Linked DNA regions of Homo sapiens: all the other regions are linked to region 2. The links are contacts of gene promoters, found by promoter capture Hi-C in blood cells and fetal thymus (Javierre and others, 2016). All regions are on one chromosome and are shown on one strand. The core of a region is centred on a gene start or on the middle of the fragment in contact, and the rest is flanking DNA. Distances in the headings are between cores, read along the strand shown. Region 1 overlaps LOC124902793 (a long non-coding RNA gene). Region 2 holds the start of APLP2 (amyloid beta precursor like protein 2). Region 3 has its middle 68 kb from the start of TMEM45B. Region 4 overlaps LOC124902793 (a long non-coding RNA gene).

Region 1 (5,323 bases), core at 1,433-3,932, 270 kb after region 2:
TTTTTTCCCCACTGTATTATTGTTTTATAGGCCCTGTGAGATTTATGATTTAAGGAGGTTCTATTAATATTTTGGTGTATTTTGAGCTTTTGTTTTAAGATTTAGAGCTCATTTAAGCATTTCTTGTAGTGCTGGTTTAGTGGTGACAAATTCTGTCAGCATTTGTTTGTCTGAAAAAAGACTTTATCTTTCCTTCATTTATGAAGCTTAGTTTTACTGAATACAAAATTCTTGGCTGAAAATTATTTTGTTTCAGGAGGCTAAAGATGGGTCCCCAGTACCTTCTGGCTTATCAGGTTTCTGCTGAGAAGTCTGAAAAGTTTTCCTACACAGGCTACCTAATACTTTTGCCTCACAGCTCGTAAGATCCTTTCCTTAACATTCTTGACTTTAGACAACCTGATGATTATGTGCTTAGGTGATGATCTTTTTGTGATGAATTTCCCAGGTGTTCCTTGAGCTTCTTGTATTTGGATGCCTAGATCTCTAGCAAGACCAGGGAAGTTTTCTCAATTATTCCCTCAAACAAGTTTTCCAGATTTTTAGATTTCACTTCTTCCTCAGGAACATCAGTTATTCTTAGGTTTAGCTGTTGGGAGGGTTTGTTCATTTTTAACTTCTTTTTTTCTTTGTCTTCGTCTGATTGGGTTAATTCAGAAGCCTTGTCTTTGAGGTCTGAAGTTCTTTCTTCTACTTGCTCTAGTCTATTGTTGACCTTTCCAATGCATTTTGTGTTTCTTTAAGTGTATCTTTCATTTCCAGAAGTGATTTTTTTCATTGTGACATCATTTCTCTGGAGAATTTTTCATTCATATCCTGTATTGCTTTTTAAATTTCTTTAAGTTGGTTTTCACCTTTCTCTGGCATTTCCTTGAGTAGCTTAATAATCACCCTTCTGAGTTCTTTATCTGGCAATTCAGAGATTTCTTCTTGGCTTGCATCCATTGCTGGGGAGCTGGTGTGATCATTGGGGGTATTATAGAGCCCTGTTTTGTCATATTACCAGAATTGCTTTTCTGTTCTTTTCTCATTTGGGTAGACTATTTCAGTGAAGAAATCTGAAACTCAAGGCCTGCTGTTCAGATTCTCTTATCCCATGGTGTGATCCTTAGATGTGGTGCTCTTCCCTTTCCCCTAGGACTGGGGCTTCCTAAGAGCTGGACTATAGTGATTCTTACTGCTCTTCTAGGCCTAGCCACCCAGTGGAGCTACCAGGCTATGTGCTGGTGCTGGGGAATGTCTGCAGAGTTCTGTGATGTGGTCTTTCTTCAGGTCTCCCATCCTTGGATCGCAGCACCTTCTCTGGTGGAGGTGGCAGGGGAGTGAGGTAGACTCTATGAAAGTCCTTGGTTGTAGATATGTTTAGTGTGCTGGCTTTCTGTAATGCTGGTTACACTAGTGGTAAAGTTGTCACATGAACACACACAGGACCTTTGGTTAGCCAGGATGTTTCAGGAAGTGGAATTAGGTGTTGTCTTTTCCTTCCTGGGATCAGGGTTATTCTGTCATGAGTTACTGTGGTGGCCTGAGTTGGTTGGCCTCTAGCCAGGAGATGGTGCTTTCAAGAGAGCACCAGCTGCAGTAGTCGTAGGGGGCTCTAAGCTTGCCCTAAGATGGTCAGGGTAAGTATTTTGGATACTCAGGTGATTGGCAGGGCCATAAAGCTCCCAAGAGTTTCTGAGTTTTGTGTTCAACTACCAGGGCAAGTAGGAAAATACCATCAGGTTGGGGCAGAGTTAAGAGGGTCTAGGCTCAGATTCTCCTTGGGTGGGGCTTGCTGCAGCCACTGTGAGTGATGGAGGATAGTTCTCAGGCCAATGGGGTTATGTTCCCAAGAGGATTTTGGCTACCTCCACTGTATCATATAGTTTGCCAGGGTAGTAGGAGATAGCTGGTAGCAAGAGGCCTGACCCAGCTCCCACACCATTGGTCAGGCCAGCCTCTCTTCTGCAGTGGACCATTCAGACCTTGCCCCAGGCTGTGAGCTTACCCCACTGAGAAAGCAAGCACGGCTTTCAGACCTCGCCTCTCTCCATCTGCCTACTTCATTGGCAGCACCTTGTATCCACAACACCTCCCACTCATCACCTGGACTCCACTCAAGAAAATTTGTGCCCAGTTGAAACCACTACCAATTTCACTTGGGAGGTTTCTTCACCCTGTGGCCCTTCCCCAATTCCACTGGCTGCCTTCCTTGAGGGCCTCTGTAAGATATACTCAGGGATGGCTTCCCTGGGGTTGAGCTGGAGACTTGGAGTACATCCAAGGCACTTCCCAATGCTACTTCTACTTTTCTACTTTGTGTGAATCCCTAAATCCATTTAATCTCTAGGTAAGGTTAAATTCTTCTCCTGTGATCTGGATTTTCGGATTCCCCAGTGGGGATGTGTATTCAGAGGTAAGTTTTCCCTTTCTCACACTTTGGGAACTCACAGTTTTTTTGCCTGTTTCATGAAATTTGCATTGGCGTGCTGCTTCTTTCAAAGGCTCTGTGAATTTTTTCGCTTTTCCTGGTATGTTCCTGCCATGGTTCTTAGAGCAAAAGATCATGGTGTGAGTCTCCACATGCTGTTCTGTCCATCCATGTGGGAGCTGCACATTAGCTCTGTCTCCTAGCTTCCATTTTCCCTGATTTTAATTTTTTTTTTTAAATAGAGATGAGGTCTCCCTATGTTGCCCAGGATGGTCTCAAACTCCTGAACTGAATTGATCCTTCTGCCTTGGCCTCCCTAAGTGCTGGCATTATAGGTGTGAGCCACTGCACCTGGGTGACAAACCAGTTTTGAAAAAGTAAGTCTGACTGTTTAGGTTCGTTTTACAGGTCAAGTTAATCTTCAATCAAGTAGTTAAAAGGTAAATTACTAATAATCAATTATAGAATAATACAATAATACCAGTTAATTATTACCAAGTTGTTTTAGTATAATAGTGGGACAGATTAGTGGGTTTCTTTTTATAATCTTTTTATTCATTTACACCGAGGGAATATAGCATCTTTCATCCAAAGAACTGAACATTTAATCCAAAGAACTGAACATTTTAAAACATGAGCATTTAAAAAGCGATTATATTTTGAAAACCTGGAGTCTTGCTGTTAAATCTCTTTGATTCCAGATACACAATTTTCTGGAAGTCATTATATTAGGGACAATGAAAGAGGCTCAGAAAGAATTCTGATTTCCTTTCACAATACAGTCATTTCCCAAAACCTAGTGCTGGGCTTGCAAAGCAAAAACACACAAATCTTACAAAGCAAAAACACACAGATTTTCCTTGCAGTGACCAATATTGCAAGAAAAATTAGTGTTCTTAAATGAATGTAATTATATGTGGAACTTAGCAAAGGCAAGGATGGCATTTTAATTCAATGGGAAGTGGTTTATGTGTTGCTAGTATAATTGACTATTATTTTGGAAGATCTTATCATAGAGTTTCTCATTATCTAATCTCTCCTTGGCCATCCTGGTGCTAGCCATCCAGAATAAGTATTATTATTTTTTCCAGCTAATATGGTTTGGCTCTGTGTCCCCAGCCAAATCTCATGTTGAACTGTAATCCTCAGTCTTGGGGGAGGGACCTGGTGGGAGGTGATTGGCTCATGAGGCAGATTTCCCACTGCTGTTCCCATGATCATGAGTGAGTTCCCACGAAATCTGGTTGTTTAAAAGTGTGCAGCACTTCTCCCTTTGCTCTCTCTCTCCTGCCGCAATGCGAAGACATGCTCATTTATCCTCCACCCTTCTGCCATGATTGTAAGCTTCCTGAGGCCTCCCGAACCATGCCTCCTGTATAGCCTGTGGAACTGTGAGTCTATTAAAACTCTTTTCTTTATAAATTACCTAGTCTGAGGTAGTTCTTTATAGCTGTGTGAGAACTGACTAACACAGAAAACTCATACCAGGAGAATTGGGGCATTATTATAAAGATACCTGAAAATGTGGAAGCAATTTTGAAACTGGGTAACAGACAGAGATTGGAACACTTTGGAGGGCTCAGAAGAAGACAGGAAGATGAGGGAAAGTTTGGAACTTCTTAGAGACTTGTTGATTGGTTTTGACCACAATGCTGATAGTTATATGGACAACGAAGTCCAGGCTGAGATGGTCTCTGATGGAGATGAGGGACTTACTGGGAAGTGAAGCAAAGGTCACTGTTGCTATGCTTTAGAAAGAGACTGGCAGCATTGTGCCCTTGCTCTAAGGATCTGTGGAACTGTGAACTTGAGATGATTTAGGGTATCTGCTGAAAGAAATTAATAAGCATCAAAGCATTCAAGAGGTGGTCTGGCTGCTTCTAAAAGCCTATGTTCATTTGCATAAGCAAATGAGAAGAGAAGCAGAGCATATTTAAAAGAGAAGCAGAGCATAAAAGTTTGGAAAATTTTCAGCCTGACCATGTTGTAGGAAAGAAAAACCCATTTTCTTGGGAGAAATTCAAGCCTGCTGCAGAAATGTGCATAAGTAAAGAGAAGCCAAATGTTAATAGCCAAGACAACGGGGAAAGTGCCTCCAGGGCACTTCAGAGACCTTCATGGCAGCCCCTCCCATCACAGGCCTGGAGGCCTAGGAGGGAAAAATGGTTTTGTGCACCAGGTCCAGGGCCCCACTGCTCTGTGCAGCCTTGGGACATGACGCCCTGTGTCCCAGCCACTCCAGCTCCAGCCTTGGCTAAAGGGTCCAAAGTATAGCATGGGCCATTGCTTTAGAGGGTGCAAGCCCCAAGCCTTGGTGGCTTCTGTGTGGCATTGGGCTTCCAGGTGCACAGAAGGCAAGAGTTGAGGTTTGAGAGCCTCTGCCTAGATTTCAGAGGATGTATAGAAATGCCTGGATATCCAGACAGAAGTCTGCTGCAGGGGCAGCGTCTTCATGGAGAACCTCTACTAGGGCAGTGCAGAAGGAAAATGTGGAGTTGGAGCTCCCACACTGTTTCCCCACTGGGGCACTGCCTAGTGGAGCTGTGAGAAGATGGCCACCGTCCTCCAGATCCCAGAATGGTAGATCCACCAACAGCTTGCACTGTGTGCCTGGAAAAGCCACAGGCCTACTCAATGCCAACTCTTGAGAGCAACTGTGGGAGCTGAGCCCTGCAGAGTTACATGAGCATAGCTGCCTAAGGCCTTGGGAGCCCACCCCTTGCATTAGTGTGCCCTGGATGTGAGACATGGAGTCAAAGGAGATTATTTTGGAGCTCTAAAATTTAATGACTTCTCTGCTGGGTTTTGGACTTGCATGGGACCTGTAGCTCCTTTGTTTTGGCCAATTTCTATCTTTTGGAGCAGGAGCACTTACCCAATGACTGTATCCCCATTGTATCTTGGAAGTAA
Region 2 (5,571 bases), core at 2,959-5,458:
TTCATTAGGTTGATGGCTGTACTAAGCCTATGTAAGACAATGTCTTTGGCTCTTAGAAAATATATACTGAAGTTCTCAGGGGTAAAGGGGATGGGGGACGACGTATGCAACTTACTCTCAAATAATTTGGCAAAAAATGCAGTAGTAAAGCAAATGTGACTAGAAGAAATGTTAACAATTGGTGAATCTGAGTAAAGGGTAAGAAAATTGTACAATTTTTGCATTTTTTATAAGATTAAAGTTATTTCTTTTTTTTATTCTTGTTTTCTTGAGATGGAGTCTCGCTCTGTTGCCCAGGCTGGAGTGCAGTGGTGTGATCTCGGCTCACTGTAACCTCCACCTCCCAGATTCTCCTGCCTCAGCCTCCTGAGTAGCTGGGATTACAGGCGCACGCCATCTCGCCCAGCTAATTTTTGTATTTTTAGTAGAGACGGAGTTTCACCATGTTGCTCAGGCTGGTCTCGAACTCCTGACCTCGTGATCCACCCACCTCGGCCTCCCAAAGTGCTAGGATTACAGGCGTGAGCCACCGCGCCTGGTGATTAAAGTTATTTCTAAGTAAAACATTTTTAATTGAAAAAGTTTAAAAATCAACACATTCAAAATTGTTCTAACAAAAATACTTAAGAGCATGTTGGGCCAACTTCCAGCAAGACTTTATGTGGAAAAATATAGGAACATATTAAAAAATTCTGCTAATAAAAACATATGCAGGACCAACTTTAAGCAAAATTTTAAATCAGCACCATCTAACAGAAATACAATGTGAGCCACATACATAGTATTAAATTTTCTAGGAACCATATTAGAGTGAAAAGAAACAAGTGAAATTAATTTTAATGTTTTATTTAGCCCATGTCTAAAGTATTGTTTCAATTTAGTCAATACAAAAATTGAGATTTTAATTCTTCTGTATTAAATCTTCAAAATCTGATGTGTATGTTACACTTCCAGTACATCTCAATTCAGAAGCTAAATTTTCATAGGAAATACTTGATCTACATTTAGATTTCATAAAATGTACAGTTTAAAAGTAAATTCGCATAACCAAATTATTTCAGTTAAAAGTTTTCCAACCACTGAATCAGATTTTAAATGTAAACTTAAATTAATTAAAATTAAATAAAATGAAAAATTCACTCCTCATTCACACTAGTCACCCTACAGACTCAATAACCACATGTGGCTTGTGGCTACACCCTGGGAAAGCCTGGCTTTAGATGGTAAAACAAATTCCCTCTACAAAAGGAGGAACTAATTGATAAAACTGAAGTTTATCGTATTTATCAAAAGATTTTTAAAACATAGTTATGATAAAAATAACGGGCCGGGCGCTGTGGCTCACGCCTGTAATCCCAGCACTTTGGGAGGCCGAGGCAGGTGGATCACCTGAGATCAGGTGTTCCAGACCAGCCTGGCCAACATGGTGAAACCCTGTCTCTACTAAAAATACAAAAATTAGCTGGGCGTGGTGGCAGGCGCCTGCAATCCCAGCTACTTGGGAGTCTGAGGCAGGAGAATCGCTTGAACTCGGAAGGCGGAAGTTGCAGTGAGCCCAGAGATCCCACCATTGCACTCCAGCCTGGGACAGAGCGAGACTCCGTATCAAAAAAAAAAAAAAAAAAAAGACGATATTCCTATCAGAAGCACACCAAGGTTTCTCTCCAAGGTACAATTACACATCTCCCATACCACCTGTCAGAAACACCAACACAAAGCCTTCTCTACTCTGCCTCAGTTGACATCCTTTAATTTGGGTTTGAGTTTCCAGAAAACTGGCAATCAAATGGCCTTCTTTCTTTCAAATGTGACAGAACAAACTCAAGTTCCGGTTCTCAGGAGCCTAGTCATCCACTGCACAGTATGCGGGGTTTCAGCACAATACTGTCTCAGTCCCAAATGGGAGCATGCACACAGGAGAACTTGTCTCGGATTTAAGAGAGGAAGTGACCCTGAGTCCAGAGGTGAGCTTTTTCTTTTTAAACAGGTGTAAGAGATTAATTCAGTCAACACCAAGCAACACTAAAGATTTGCCAATCAATAATTCTGTGCCAAGCAACTTGATCAGGGATTTGGCCAGAATCCCTTTCGCTAATCTCAATCAGGGCCTTCCCAAAGACATCCTGATTTAGGCCACTCTCATCTAAATTAAGCTTCGACAGTCCCTTGCCTGACAGCAAATAAACAAAATCAAATTATATTCATATGAATAAAATTCTGATAGCTTGACAAAAGGCCCCTTGAAAGATCATTTAGTAAGTGTGAGCAAAAATACAGCTCCAAAGAACAGGAGTTACCATAAAACCATTTTTCAGAAATGTTTAATTCCTACTTTCTTCAACCATACTTTTCAACTGAACAACGCTGTGGCTAACAATCAAATTTAACACACAACAATGAATTCTCATATTATTTTTTCCCGCTACACAAGTATTAACGAATTCTTTAAAACTGCTGAGTCTTCTACTGTGAATTCACTAATGCCTCAAATTAGTCATAGCAGTGGGAAGTGGAGTGCGAGTGTGAACGATGGTTTCTGACACCCGACCCACTAGTGAAGTCCCATCTTCCATACGAAAGCCTTTATTTTTTCTTCCCATCTCACTCACCTAGCTGTTTTCATGCGACATATCAGGGATCACAGATACAACTCTGACCATTGTGTGGACACACTGAAACAATCGCAATCCAAAATCCTCTGTAGATAAACGTTAACTATTTCTCTTTAAAGCTGAACTCCTTTCTTACCCTCACAGTCACAAAGCTTTAAACTGGATGAATACAAAGGTGTTAAGCCGTTCCATCAGAGAGGCTTTTTATTAGATTTATTTTTACCCGTGGAAATACTTGAACATTCTGTAGAAGTAAATATATTCTAAACCTGAGGTCTTTAAAAGAAAGCTCTCAATTAATGCCCAATCAAATCCAGTCTTCAGGTCTCTCTGAAATTAGCTAAGTATGCAGAAACCAGTTGTAATTTTTAAAAGAGCGAAGAGGGAGAAGAAATAAACGACACCAGAACTACACATTCCAGACCAGCAGTTCAAGCACCACTTCGAGAAGGGAAGTAAAGATCAAGCTCGCCGTCTCCCTCGGCCACAGCAGGGCTCCTCCAAGGCTGCCCGCTCCGGCCCGCACCGCGGACCCCGCCGCCCCCGCCCCCTCCCGCGGCCTCCCCAACCCCCGGCCCTGCCGCTTCGCCTTTCTCGCAGCGGGGATGCTCAGGGTGCGACCTCGAAGCACAACCACTGATGGAATTCTGACACCCGAAGAGGACGATTTTTCCAACAGTTTACACGCCTTCGCGGGCACCTTCCCTACTCACTGAAACCCTCACGAAAGCGGTCAACGCACCCAGAGCGGGTTTCCTCGGTCTACGGACGCAGGCAAACAGCGCCACTTAAAAAATGCGCGTCCGCGACCCGGCCCCAGGCGGCAGAGGGAGCAGCGGGCGGCCTGGCGCGGGAGCTCCCCCGGGGCTCGCAGCATCCCTGCCGCGCGCGAAGGCCGGGGCCGCGTCCACCTGGCAACAAAGGCGAAGCCCGCCGCTCGCAGGTGGGAGGCCCGGAGCCGAGGCCCCGGTGCCGCGCGAGGGAGCGTACGGGGTCCGCGCGGGGCCGCCCCTGGAGAAAGCCCAGCCGCGGACTCCGGCGGGAGAGGAGCGCCCTGGCATTGTCCCGGGGGAGGGCGGGGCGGGCGCCCGGGGGCACTGGGTCCCCGGAGGAGGTGGCGGCGCCGCGGGCGGGTTGGGGGCTGGGTCGGCCGAGGCGGACGGCCGCCCCCAGCAGCCCCGACGCCTTTCATTTGGCCTCTGCGGCGGCTGAGGCAGCCCGACCTCCAGCGCTAAGCACTGCGCCAAGCAGGGACGGGCGGGGGAGGGCGCGCCAGACCCGCCGCAGAGCCGGACCCCCGGCGCCGCACCGCCGGCCCGCCCTGCCGCGGACCCCGCTGCCCGCCCGCAGTCCGCGCTCCTCCGGCGGGCGAAGGAGACGACTCTCCGGCGTTCGCCCGGTCCCCACCTCGATGTAGCCGGCCAGCGCCAAGGCAGGCGCCGTGAGCCCCACCAGCAGCAGAAGCAGGAGCCTGCCCGTGGCTGCGGCGGCCGCGGTCCCGGTGGCCGCCATCCCTCGCCGGGTCGCTCTAGCGCGCGGCTCTCAAGCTCACACACTCGGACTCCTCGCTTAGCACACCGCGACCCAGAAGCATCTAAAGCCAGTTCGCCGCCGCCCCGGGGGTTTTACACCAACCGGAACTGACTTCATATTACCACGCCCTCCTTCTGCGGCTCCCAATGCCGGCCCGCAGAACCCCTCAAGACCCCGCCCCCTTGCGGTCCAGACCCAATCAGGAGATGGAAGAGCCTGCTCCTCCCGCCCGGTCCAACCGCGCGCCCCCCGCCCGGCCCCGCCCCCGGCCGCGGATGGCCCCGCCCCCGCTCCGGACCCTGTGGCCGCCAGGCGCGGGGGCGTGCGCGCGGCGGGTCTGGGGCCGCAACCCTGTGGGCGCGGGGCTGGCTCTGGCCTCCGCCCCCCGGCGCGGTTATCTGTCCCTGCTGCGCTGGTCCGTCAGCCTTCAGCCTCCCGATACGGGCACGCCCCGCTCCCCTGCCCCTGCTGGGCATTCTTCAGACTCCTTTGGGTACCGCCCTCTTTTTGATTCTGGAAATGGTTTTATTAAAAACAGGATGAATTAGGAGTCCGGGACGGTCTGCCAAGGGCCGTCCCCCGAGGCAGGGGGAGGACCGCAGGAGGCAGCCATCGTCCTCCCCCGAGCCCTACTCAGGGCGCGCCTCTCCCGCCCTGCTCCGCCCAGGCCTCTCCGCCGGGTCCTCGCCTCTGAGTCCGGCCGCGCTCCGCACCCTTGGCCTCCGGTCTTTAGGCCTCTTGCCGACCCTTCCTTCCCAGCAGTTGCCCAGGCAGGGATAGAGACCAGGGGTGCAAGAACCACGCCGGCCTCACAGCCCAGGCCCCCTTCCTCGTGTGTTTTAGGAAGAGATCACGCCGCTTCTTCGGTTGAGACGCACTAGCGGGAGACCTGCTACTCTGCCTTCCTGCTCCGCGGCATTGCCACTTCAGTAGAGAAAAACGTCCTGCTGCCCCATTTAGCAATTGGCACAGCCTCGCCACCGCCAGGGCTCCGCTGGCCTTGTTTCCTTTCAGTCGCCTGTGAGTTAGGTACTGCCTTCTGAGAGACCTGGACTAGTCCCTTCAGGTTCAACTAAATGCATAACACAACCCTACCCCCAGGACGCTGACAATAGAAAGGAAGAGACTGTCCGCGGAGTAGACGAGTGCGCCTGTAAGAACTCGGGATTTTCCAGCCTTATTCTGCACCACTCTCCCCTACATGCCCAGTTCCCTGTGGGTAAACTGGCTCTGCCCGATTCCTCCAAGACGACACCTTTCCATTTCACAGCCCTTCCTAACACTCTTCTGCGCCTGCAATGTCCTCTCCCCAACATCTGCCTGTTGGAAGCGTTTTCACTGTTCCTCGGCTCAGTCGGCTGAAATATCGCTTCTGATTGCTCAGAGGGATGTTTCCCACTGTGGCACTCGCTCCCTAGTTATTCCA
Region 3 (5,796 bases), core at 1,840-4,339, 320 kb after region 2:
GGCCCGCGTTCCACCATGGCCAGACATTCCCTTTGAGAGTCTGCAAAGCTTGTTTTCTCTCGGAGAATTCTAGGCAATGCAGGTCAAAGAAAGGATTTTGAATCAAGTCCTCGGCTACGTCAGATGGAAGTGCTTACAAGAGCTGCATTAATGGAATAATTCTTTTACTCCATGATCTGACTCCTGTCTACGTCTTTAATATTTTATTTTATTTTCATTTTTTTTTAGAGTCAGAGTCTCTCTCTGTCGCCCAGGCTGGAGTGCAGTGGCACAATCACTGCGCACTGTAGCCTTAACCTCCTGCGCTCAAGCAATCCTCCCACCTCAGCCTCCTGAGTGGCTGGGACCACAGGTGTGCCACCACATCCATGTCCAGTGTTCATTCTCACTATTTTCCCCGACGCCTGCTGTTGCTTTTTTATACTACTTGCAGTTCCTCGCAATGTTGCAGAAGCACTGCCTCCTCCGTGATGGCCTTTGGGTTCGTCTAACTCTTCCTTCATGGTTTGTCCCCTTTATAGAATCAATAGCGCCTATCCCAGAAATCCAAAATTTTCACTGCACTTGAGACTATTTACTTATCCATCTCTGTCTTCTGGGCTGTCATCTCATTGAGTTCATATTCACCTTTGAATCTCCAGCATGCAGCCTGAGGACTGGAGGTCGCACTTAGTAGGTGTTCACTGAGTGAATAAAGGAAGGATAAAAACACTCTTCACTTTGCATTTAGGGAAAAAATAGATAATACAGAGATTTCCATCAAAACCAAACCAAGCCAATGTCTCTTGGAACCACACTGACAGTTTATGCCTTGGACAACTGGTGTGATGGTTTATGGTTTCTTCATTGTTGCTATGTATGTCTGTGAACGTATTTGTCTTTTAAATTACTTACTGGAGCAAGAAGTTCACTTTTACTTCATAAGGTAGATCCTTGAAACAGTCACTACTTTTAAAATAAAGTCTTCCCCTGTCCTCCTTGAAAGGTTCTTCTCGGGCTGCGTGTTGCAAGATCCTTCCTTGCAAGGCAGTCGATGCTGTCTTATCCCCTCCCCTGGAGCAGAACTGGGGTTACCTCTGGTAGCTTTGGACGTGGCCATCCAGGGTTGGTTTTGTAGAGATGAGACTCAGAGACATCAAATAATCTTTCCTTTACTCAGCATTGGAAGATTTCAAAGAAAGTATGTGCAGGAGGCAGAAGGTGGGGTCAGGATTGTTTAAATTTGGGGAGCTGCTTTTCTAGGGCAGTGAGAATTCTCTTGCTGGGTGGAGTTTGGTGCATGCAGCTGGGCTGGGGGTCGCTCCCAGCAGGGAACTCCTAAGTGCCAGCCCAGGCTCTCTGACCTGGGGCTAGTCTCCATTGGCAAATGCCACCCTCTGTCTCCCATCATCTCTCCCCTCATCTATGAAGAGGCAGGAAGGAGCTCTGGGAGGTGGGAGAGAGCAGAGGCCACAGTCAGTGTCCTCTGGACATGTTGATAGCTAGAAGCAGAGCTGAGGCCCTGGGGACAGACACCTTGTCCTTATGCTGAAGAGACCCTTTTTTAGCGGTCATTGCAAGTTGAGTTGGGATAAGGATTCTAGGTCTGGTTTATTTTTTTCTGGAAAGTATATACTTCCTCCGTTTCTCTGGCCTGATTACTGCCCACATGCCACCAGGGGATAGCTGTCCTTCTGCAGTAGTGGGAGACATGGAAGATCATGGACTCTGGAGCTGGACTCTCTGGGTTCAGATCCTGGCTTTGCCTCTTAGTAGCTGTGTGACTTTGGGCCATTCAGGTAACATCTCTGTGCCTAAATCACCTGTTCTGTAAGGTGGGTTCACCTCATAAGGCAGCTGTGAAAATTAAGCAGATTAGCACATGTTAAATGCCGATGACAGCACCAGCATGTAACCAGTATGCAGAGGACATGAGCTCTTACTGTGCCTGCCTTCTCCTTTCCCCAGCCCTCTCCCTTCAAGGTGGTCCCTGTTCATCTCAACAGGTACTCATTGGTGCCCCTGTACCCAGCACCATGACAGGCACTGAGGGGGATACAAGGAAGCTTAGACGTGGTTTCCATTCTCAAGAGGCTTATGATATGGGGACATGGAGACAAAAGCAAAGTAATAAAAATAAAAAACAGGGGAGGGAGTGGGGAAAGAATTGAAAAACTTCCTATTGGGTACTGTGTTCACTACTTGGGTGAAAGGATCGTTAGAAACCCAAACCTCAGTATCATGAAGATACTCATGGAACAAACCCACACATGTACCTCTTGAACCTAAAATAAAAATAGAGGCCGGGTGCAGTGGCTCCCACCTCTAATCCTAGCACTTTGGGAGGCAGGGGTGGGTAGATCACTTGAGGCCAGGAGTTCGAGACCAGCCTGGCCAACATGGTGAAACCCTGTCTCTACTAAAAATACAAAACTTAGGTGTGGTGGCTCACGCCTGTAACCCCAGCTACTCAGGAGGCTGAGGCACAAGAATCACTTGAACCAGGGAGGCACAGGTTGCAGTCAGCCAAGATCACACCACTGCACTCCAGCCTGGGTGACAGAGCAAGACTCTGTCTCAAAGATTAAAAAAAAAAAAAAAAGCAACTTTGTTAAAATATATGCCACTAATATATAAGTGTCATAGGAGTTCAAAAGAAGGAGACAGGGGGATGTGAGTGGCTTCATGAAAGAAGCCAAACTTGATTTGGGCCCGAAAGGGGGCAGAATATGGAGAACGGATTTTATGACTTTCCCCCCCACTATCTACAACTCTCTGAATTGTTCTGGCTTCTAAATCAAGATGGCAAAAACAATTGTCACCGCTCAGCTCAGGGAAATTCTCATGATGCCAGTTTACCTGGCAAGTTATACACAGGCTTAGGCCACTGCTGCCTTTGAAACTGTAGGAAAAATGCAAAACGTTCAAGGGCTGTCCCATTCCTCTGAATAAATACCCCTAAAGCAAGTGGTCCGACTCTGGGGTTGAGCTTCCCCCAGGCTTCGATGTCTGCCTGCGCTGTGGCTGTAGATGACTGACTTCCAGCCCAGTACATTCCACTGCTCTGAGCTGCTCCTGTTTCCCTCCAGAAGTCTGCAAAGCATTAAGCACTATATTTAACTCCAGCCTAAAAGAAAAATGCCTGCCTCTGAGCATCCAGACAGGAGAAAGGATTTTCACCTCCGAGGACACACAGTCATTGTTCACCTTGAAGCCATGGACACACAGGCCCGGAATGTTCATCCCCTCCTGGCTCTAGCTTTAGCTTTTGGGTGGGCTCAAGAAAGTGGAGGCCATTTTGATGACACTCAGTAGGTTAAGACCCCACACGTGGGAAGTTGGCTGGCTGAGTGGGGCTTTGTGCACAGCCTTGTGTAGTTAACCATTAACGGCTCATGAGAATCATCTGAGGAGCCTGTGGAAGTTGCAGATGGTGGGATCCGTGCTCAGCGGTTCTGAGTCCATCGGTCTGCGATGATGCCCAGGGATCTGTGTCTTTAACACACAAGCCAGGGGATTCTGGCGAGGGTGATCTTGGACTAGACGTGGTAGAGAACAGTTAGCTGGAGCTATTGGCGACTTTGTCAAAAGAGGCAAAGGAAGGAAAAAAGGTGGAAGCTGAAGCAGGGGGAGTGATTTTGAATGGTTTATGAACTGAATGACGAGGACACAAATTAAGGCAAATCATTAATTACATCATAGCCTCAAGAAGGCCCAGAGCAGGGATTTACAGCCCCATTCAAAGAAGAACTCAGCTTTGGAGTCATCAACGCAGGGAAGCTGAGGCTGGGGACCACGACGGGTGATGACCTGGGACCAACCCTGTTTCACCCAGAACACCTTCACTTTGATCTATTTTTATATACATGGGTTCCATGTAGGATGTCATTTGAAAACTGGCCACTGCTAAAAGAAGTTAAAAAGAAATCATTAACCTAGAGATTAAGTGTTTGGAAAACCTTAATCTCCCTGGGTGACTGGCGGAGCGGTGTTCTATTAGGTCTAGATCGTTTTATCTGCAAGAGCAGGATGACTTTGGACAGAATGCTTGTGCATAGGCCTTTTGGCTCTTCGTGTTCTTTTCTCCCTTTTAGCCAGTTCTCCTCTAATTTTTCTGTGATCTAGATCCATTTGAGAATCCTGTGAAAGCTTTGGACCTTTCCTGAGGAAAATGCACCTAGGCACACACCTATACACATTGGCATTCAATTTTGGTGGGGGTTATGGGCTCTGTGAAGCCCATCTGTACCCTTGGTGATCACACCCCCCTCTCAACTGTTAACTATTTATTTTATAGCGGTACCACGGTTATTCTTTGCTTCAAGTCTTTCAACTAGACTGCAAGCCTCTTGAGTCTAGAAACTGTGTCCTTTACAATGGCGGTCTAAAACGGGAAGGACAAGATGATCCGTTGCAGCATAAGAAGGAAGTTTTAGAACTTCTACTTATTTTTAATATTATCCCTTTTCAGTTTCTATTTTTCTATATTTCTATAATGCTCTCCTTGTATTAAAATAGTCCTTCATCTTCTCCTTCTCCTCCCCCTCCTTCCTCGTCTTATTATTATTTTGAGACAGAGTCTCTGTTGCCAGGCTGGAGTGCTGTGGTCCTATCTCGGCTCACTGCAACTTCTGCGTCCTGGGTTCAAGCGATTCTTCTGCCTCAGCCTCCCGAGTAGCTGGGATTACAGGCATGCACCAGCACGCCCAGCTAATTTTTGTATTTTTAGTAGAGTCAGGGTTTCACCACGTTGGCCAGGATGGTCTCGATCTCATGACCACGTGATCTGCCTGCCTTGGCCTCCCAAAGTGCTGGGATTACAGGCGTGAGCCACCGTGCCTGGCCGAATAGCTCATATCATTTAAATAAATATACATATTCTGAAGGTGCCATGTTAAAAACTTACTGATAATGATAACATGATTCAGAAAGCTTGGAGTACTCTGCTTTACAGAATTTTTTTTTTGACACTCATGCTGAGCATTTTGCTAGGTGTTGGAGATTAAAAAAATGATGTAGTTTCTACTCTCAGGGAACTTAACAGTTTAATTTTGCACATAGTAGGTTTTTTGTTTTGAATGGAGGAGCTGAGATTTGAGTCTGGCTTATTTGACTCCAAGTCAGTAACTGGATGATGAGTTAATTCTTCCAAGGTGGGTCATGCGCTGCATATTTAGGAAGCCACTGCCTCTGGGAAAACCACCCCACAGAATATGCTCCCACTTGGTATGAAATGTGAAGACAGGGTCGCTGATCTTATCATCCTTAGGTAGAGTCGCTAGTTAGCAGTGGTTCTGGAATTCTTACATGGCAGCTGCTCAAGAGTGGCACTTTCATTAGAAGGACGAAGCTTGAGACTGAGGTTGAATGCACTCTTGCACAGCAACCCACCACGATTACTTAGATTTTGTTGATTTGCTGTGGTCTTAGGGACATGATGGAGACTATGGGGTAGAAATTGGGTACAGTTATCTCAAGCCATTTCTTTCTTTCTTTTTTTTTTTTTTGAGACGGAGTCTCCCTCTGTCGCCCAGGCTGGAGTGCAATGGCACGATCTCGGCTCACTGCAACCTCTGCCTCCTGGGTTCAAGCGATTCTCCTGCCTCAGCCTCCTTAGTAGCTGGGATTACAGGCGTGTGCCACCACGCCCAGCTAGTTTTTGTATTATTAGTAGAGACGAGGTTTCACCATGTTGGCCAGGCTGGTCTCGAACTCCTGACCTCAGGTGATCCGCCCACCCCGGCCTCCCAAAGTGCGGGATTACAGGCGTGAGCCAATGTGCCTGGATAGTTTTTGTATTATTAGTAGAGACGGGGT
Region 4 (5,478 bases), core at 323-2,822, 290 kb after region 2:
AGTTTTATAGATAAGTTACTCAAACGGTTACGGAGATGAGAGCAGTTTCTTATAAAAGCTTTTGAATTCAACTGTAACCTGGCCACCATCCGGGACCCCTCTCCTCTGTGGAGAGCTTTCTTCTTTTGCTTATTAAATTTTTGCTCCAACCTCACCCTTTGTGTCCATGCTCTTTAATTTTCTTGGTTGTGAGACCACGAGCTCAGATAATACCTTAGACAAAGAGAACAGTGACCCTGACCTGTTTCAGGAGGGTGGATGTGCACCCCATTACCCTGGCTCCCACCAGTAGCAGCCCATGAACTGTGTCCCATGCTTCCCAGGCAAGATCGTGTCAGCCAGCAGGCCGACTGCATGCCAAGCACCTGAGACCTGCTCTGCTGCCGAGGCCTGACTTCTGGGACCACTTTCCAGAATTTGCTCATCACCTATTCCTGAGGATGCTACTCTCAAGCCCCACAGGGCCCACATGGCTGCGACTTTTCTGAGAATTGGCCCTGCTAGTGGATATAACTGCCACTAATGCCACTGTCCCTTCACTTGTACCCCGGATGTAACTGTATTCAGCTCAGGTGCCTTCATCAGCAGGAGCACTGTAAGCGTAATTTATTAAAAGTGAAACAATTGTACAAGCAGTTAATCAACCACCACAGGGCATAATTAATGAAGCAGCCTTCCCCTCCCCACCCCCATTGATTTTGTGAAACTCCCTTTTTCTTTCAGCTTGATCAAGTATTCCAAATTTAGAAAGCTCTAAGGTGGCCTACAGAAAAAGAAAAAGGCCACATAAGGTCCCTCTCACTTTCAGTAAATAGCAGCATATAAATACAAGAAAAAATAGATATTGTCTTGTGCAGCATTAAAAAATCAAAATAAAATAAATATGAGCAAAAATGGGTTTCTTGTATGTAGTCTATAATTGTTTAGTACATTTATAACTAATATCAAGATTACCAATATGCTTTGGTTACAATGCGTCGTCTTGATATTTGTTTTCTATTCATTGCATTTGTTCCTTGGTCCTTTTTGTTTTCATCTCCTTTCCATTTTCTCTCAGGTAAGCTTCTGACCCCACCCACCTGTTTTTAATGTTTTCAGCCCCCATGCGAATAACTGTTACTACTGGAACATACTAGGTTGGGTTCTGTTCTCTTCTAAACAAAATTTAGCAAAAGGCACAGTGATTTCCCATATTCACCTGCACCCACACATGCATGGCCTCCCCACGACCAGCAACCCCTACCAAAATGGCCTATTTGTTGCAACTGATGAACCTTTATTGACATAGTTGACATTAGGGTTCACCGTTGGTGCTGTACATTCTATGGGGTTGAACACATGTATAATGACATGCATCCACTATTTCAGTGTCATACAGAGTAGTTTCACTGCCCTAAAAATCCTGTGTCCCACCTTCACCCTTCCTTCCACTCCAATCATTGGCAACCATTGATCTTTTTCCTGTCTTAATAGTTTTGCCTTTACGGAATGTCATGTAGTTGGAATCATACAGTATGTAGCCTTTTCAGACTGATTTCTTTCACTTAGTAATTTGCATTTAAGTTTCTTTCGTGTCGCTTCATGGCTTGATAATTTCATTTTAGTGCTGAATGATACCCTTTTGTCTGGATGTATCTGGTTTATTTATGCATTTAACTGTTAGAGGTCATCTTGGTTTCTTCTAATATTTCCCAGTTAGGAATAAAGTTAGGTTCTATAAGTATCCATGTGTAGGTAATTGTGTGGACATAAGTTTTCAAGTCCTTTGGGTAAATACCAAGGAGTGTGCTGGTTGGATTGTATGGTAAGGGTATGTTTAGTTTTGTAAGAAGCCTCCAAAGTATCTTCCAAAGTAGCTGTACCATTTTGCATTTCCACCAGCAATGAGAGTTCTTGTTGCTACAGATCCTCACCAGTGTTTGGTGGTGTCAGTATTCTGAATTTTGGGCATTTTAATTGGTGTTAGTAGTATCTCATCATCATTTTAATTTGTATTTCCATGGTAACACAGGATGTAGAATATCTTTTCATATGTTTGTTTGCTATTTGTTTATCTTCTTTGGTGAGGTTCTGTTAAGCTTGCTGGCCCATTTAAAAAATTGGGTTTCTCGTTATCTTATTTTTGAGTTTTAAAGAATTCTTTGTATATTGGGGATAACAGTCCTTTATCAATTATGTCTTTTGCAAATATTTTCTCCCAAAGGCTTGTCTTTTCATTCTCTTGACAGTGTCCTTTGCTGAGCAGAAGTTGTTACTTTTAATGAAGTCCAACTTATCAGTTCTTTCTTTCATAGATCATGACTTTGGTGTCACAACTAAAAAGTTATTGCTAAACCCAAGCTCACCTAGATTTTGTCCTATTACCTTCTAGGAGCGTTATAGGTCTGTGTTTTATATTTAGGTCTGCGATTCATTTTGAGTTAATTTTTGTGAAGGGTGTAAGGTCTGTGTCTGGATTCTTTTTTTTTTTAAATGTGGATGTCTATTATAACAAACATTCTATTTTTCTTCAACGTATTGCCTTTGTTCTTTGACAAAGATCAGTTGACTATATTTATGTGCGTCAATTTCTGGACTCTATTGTGTTCCATTGATCTATTGATTTATTCTTTTGCAAATACCACATTGTCTTAATTATCGTAGATTTAGAGTAAGTCTTCGAGTCAGGTGTGTCAGTCCTCCAACTTTGTTCTTCTCTTTCAATATTGAATTGGCTATTAAGTGTGCTTTGGCTCTGCATATAAAATTTAGAATACTCTGTTGATATCTGTGAAATAAACTTGCTGGGATTTTGACAGGGATTGCATTGGAATCTATAGATCAAGTTGGGAAGAACAGACATCCTAAAAATATTGAGTCCTTGTATTCATGAACATCAATTGTCTATCCGTTTATTTAGTTTTTCTTTGATTTCTTTCATCAGGGTTTTATAGTTTGCCTTACATAGATCTTGTGCATATTTTGTTAAATTTATAACTAAGTATTTCATTTTACAGGGTGCTAATTTAAATGGTATTATGTGTTTTAGAATACGTGCTGCCAAAGTGAGCACATAAATGGTATTATGTTTTTCAGTTTTCACTTGTTCATTGTTGATATAAAGAAAAGTGATTGGCTGGGCGCGGTGGCTCATGCCTGTAATCCGAGCACTTTGGGAGGCCGAGGCAGGCAGATCACAAGGTCAGGAATTCGAGACCAGCCTGGCCAATATGGTGAAACCCAGTCTCTACTAAAAATACAAAAATTAGCCGGGTGTGGTGGTGCACCTGTAGTCCCAGCTACTCGGGAGGCTGAGGCAGAAGAATCACTTGAACCCGGGAGGCGGAGGTTGCAGTGAGCTGAGATCGCACCACTGCACTCCAGCCTGGGTGACAGAGTGAGACTCCATCTTAAAAGAAAAGAAAAAGAAAAGTGACTGACTTTTGTATATTAAACTTGCATCCTGCACCCTTGCTATAATCACTTATTCCAGAAGTTTTTTTTTCTTGGTTATTTTATATTGTCTGCATAGGTAATCATGACATCTGCAAACAAACACGGTTTTATTTTTTCCCTTCTCAGTCTGTATATATTTTATTTCCTTTTTTTAAATTTTATTAGCTAGGATTCCCATTACAATGTTGAAAGACAGTGATGAGAGAGAACACCCTTGCCTTGTTCCTGATCTTAGTGGGAAAACTTCATGATTCTCACCATTAAGTATGATGTTAGCTGTAGGTTTTTAATAGATATGCTTTGTCAAGTAGAGGAAGATCCCCTCTATTCCTAGTTTACTGAGAGTTTTTTTTAAATCATGAATGGATGTAGGATTTTGTCACATGCTTTTTCTGCAACTATTGAAATGATCACGTGCTATTTGTTCCTCAGCCCCCCCATGTGATGATTACCTAATTGATTTTGTATGTTGAACCAGGCTTGCATAGTGAGGATAAATATGTTGTTTTGGTGGATAATTGTTTTTATACATTGTTGAGTTTGATTTGCTAATATTTTGGGGGAGATTTTTGCATCTATGTTCATCAGAGATACTGGTAGACAGTTTTCTTGTGAAGTCTTTGTCTGATTTTGGTGTTAGGATGATGCGGGCCTTGTAGAATGAGTTAGTAATTGTTCCTTCTGTGTCTATCTTCTGAAATGAGTATAATTTATTTCTTAAATGTTTGGTAGAATTCACCAGTGAACCAATCTGGCCTGGTGCTTTTTGTTTTGGGAGGCTTCCCCTTACTATTTAATTACTGATAGTCTCTTCTGTAAATAGTGATGAAAAAACTGGATATTCAAATGCAGAAGAATGAAATTAGACTCTCGTACTGTATACAAGAAGCAATTCAAAATGGATTAAATTCAAAAGACTTAACTGTAAGACCTTAAGCCATAACACTACTAGAAGAAAACAGAGGACTGGGTGTGGTGGCTAATGACTGTAATCTCAGCAATTGGGAGGCCAAGGCAGGTGGATCACCTGAGGTCAGGAGTTCAAGATTGGCTTGGCCAACATGGAGAAACCCTGTCTCTACTAAAAATACAAAAATTAGCTGGGCATGGTGATGTGCGCCTGTAATCCCAGCTACTTGTGAGACTGACGCAGGAGATCACTTGAACCTGGGAGGCGGAGACTGCAGTAAGCCGAGATCGTGCCACTCCACTCCAGCCTTGGGTGATAGAGCAAGACTCCATCTGGAAAAAAAAAAAAAGAAAACAGGAAAATCCTGACAGTCGTCTGGGCAATTATTTTTTGACTATGACACCAAAAATGCAAGCAAAAAAGCAAAAATAGAAAATTGGGATTGCATTAAACTAAAATGCTTTGGCATGGCAAAGGAAACCATCAACAGAGTGAAAAGGCAATCCTGTGGAATGGGAGAAAATATTTTCAAACCATGTATCTTTAAGGGATTAATATCCAAAATATGTAAGGATTTTTTTCTTTATCTTTGACTTCTTTAGTTCACAAATTATATGCCTAGGTATTGTTTCTGGGGGCATTTATCCTGCTTGGTGTTGTCTTAGATTCCTGAATCTATGGGTTGATGTCTGACATTAATTTGGAGTCTCTGTCATAATTATTTCAAATATATTTTCTGTTCCTTTCTCTCCTTTTTTTTCCCCTGGTATTTCTAGCACAAATATGTACGCCTTCTGTAGTTGTCCTACAGTTCTTGGATATTTTGTCCTTCTTTCCCCCATTTTTTTCTGTTTGTCATTCAGTTATAGATATTTTTATTGAGATATTCTCAGGCTCAGATTCTTTCCTAAGCCATGTCCAGTCTACCAATCAGCCTATCAGAGCCATCCTTTGGTTCCATTACCGCGTTTTTGACCTCTAGCATTTCTTTCTGGTTCTTTCCTAGGATTTCCATCTCTCTGCTTCTATCGTCCAACAGTTGTTTTTTGTTTTTGAGACGGAGCCTCGCTCTGTCGCCAGGCTGGAGTGCAATGGCGTGATTTCGGCTCACTGCAACCTCCGCCTCCCGGGTT

The links. The method cuts DNA at HindIII sites, captures the fragments that hold promoters and counts their contacts. A CHiCAGO score of 5 or more calls a contact.
Region 1: a contact is called between a fragment that was not itself captured here and the fragment with the promoter of APLP2 in region 2, in 3 of 17 cell types (naive CD4 T cells, total CD4 T cells and non-activated CD4 T cells). The highest score is 7.1, in naive CD4 T cells.
Region 3: a fragment that was not itself captured here is called in contact with the fragment with the promoter of APLP2 in region 2 in 1 of 17 cell types (non-activated CD4 T cells); the score reaches 6.7 in non-activated CD4 T cells.
Region 4: a fragment that was not itself captured here is called in contact with the fragment with the promoter of APLP2 in region 2 in 4 of 17 cell types (naive CD4 T cells, non-activated CD4 T cells, total CD4 T cells and 1 more); the score reaches 6.6 in naive CD4 T cells.

The regions. Positions count from the first base shown.
Region 1 is chr11:129,794,542-129,799,864 of GRCh38, reverse strand. All of the region lies in intron 1 of LOC124902793 (a long non-coding RNA gene), which reads left to right. Among named protein-coding and RNA genes, the nearest start is that of TMEM45B, 19 kb to the left of the region's middle. The HindIII fragment of the contact is 2,155 bases long and covers 1,605-3,759 here.
Region 2 is chr11:130,068,531-130,074,101 of GRCh38, reverse strand. It overlaps APLP2 (amyloid beta precursor like protein 2), which reads right to left and starts at 4,208. Exons shown (of 17, transcript NM_001142276.2): 1 at 4,020-4,208. The coding sequence starts at 4,124. LOC107984432 (a long non-coding RNA gene) reads left to right here and starts at 4,453. Exons shown (of 2, transcript XR_001748444.2): 1 at 4,453-4,638; 2 at 4,989-5,571. RefSeq lists silencers at 3,320-3,779, 3,850-3,979, 4,370-4,599 and enhancers at 4,516-5,016, 5,017-5,517. The HindIII fragment of the contact is 4,769 bases long and covers 2,767-5,571 here.
Region 3 is chr11:129,744,591-129,750,386 of GRCh38, reverse strand. No RefSeq gene overlaps it. Among named protein-coding and RNA genes, the nearest start is that of TMEM45B, 68 kb to the left of the region's middle. RefSeq lists an enhancer at 1-343. The HindIII fragment of the contact is 2,083 bases long and covers 2,048-4,130 here.
Region 4 is chr11:129,773,939-129,779,416 of GRCh38, reverse strand. The region is part of intron 1 of LOC124902793 (a long non-coding RNA gene); the gene reads left to right. Among named protein-coding and RNA genes, the nearest start is that of TMEM45B, 39 kb to the left of the region's middle. The HindIII fragment of the contact is 1,016 bases long and covers 1,065-2,080 here.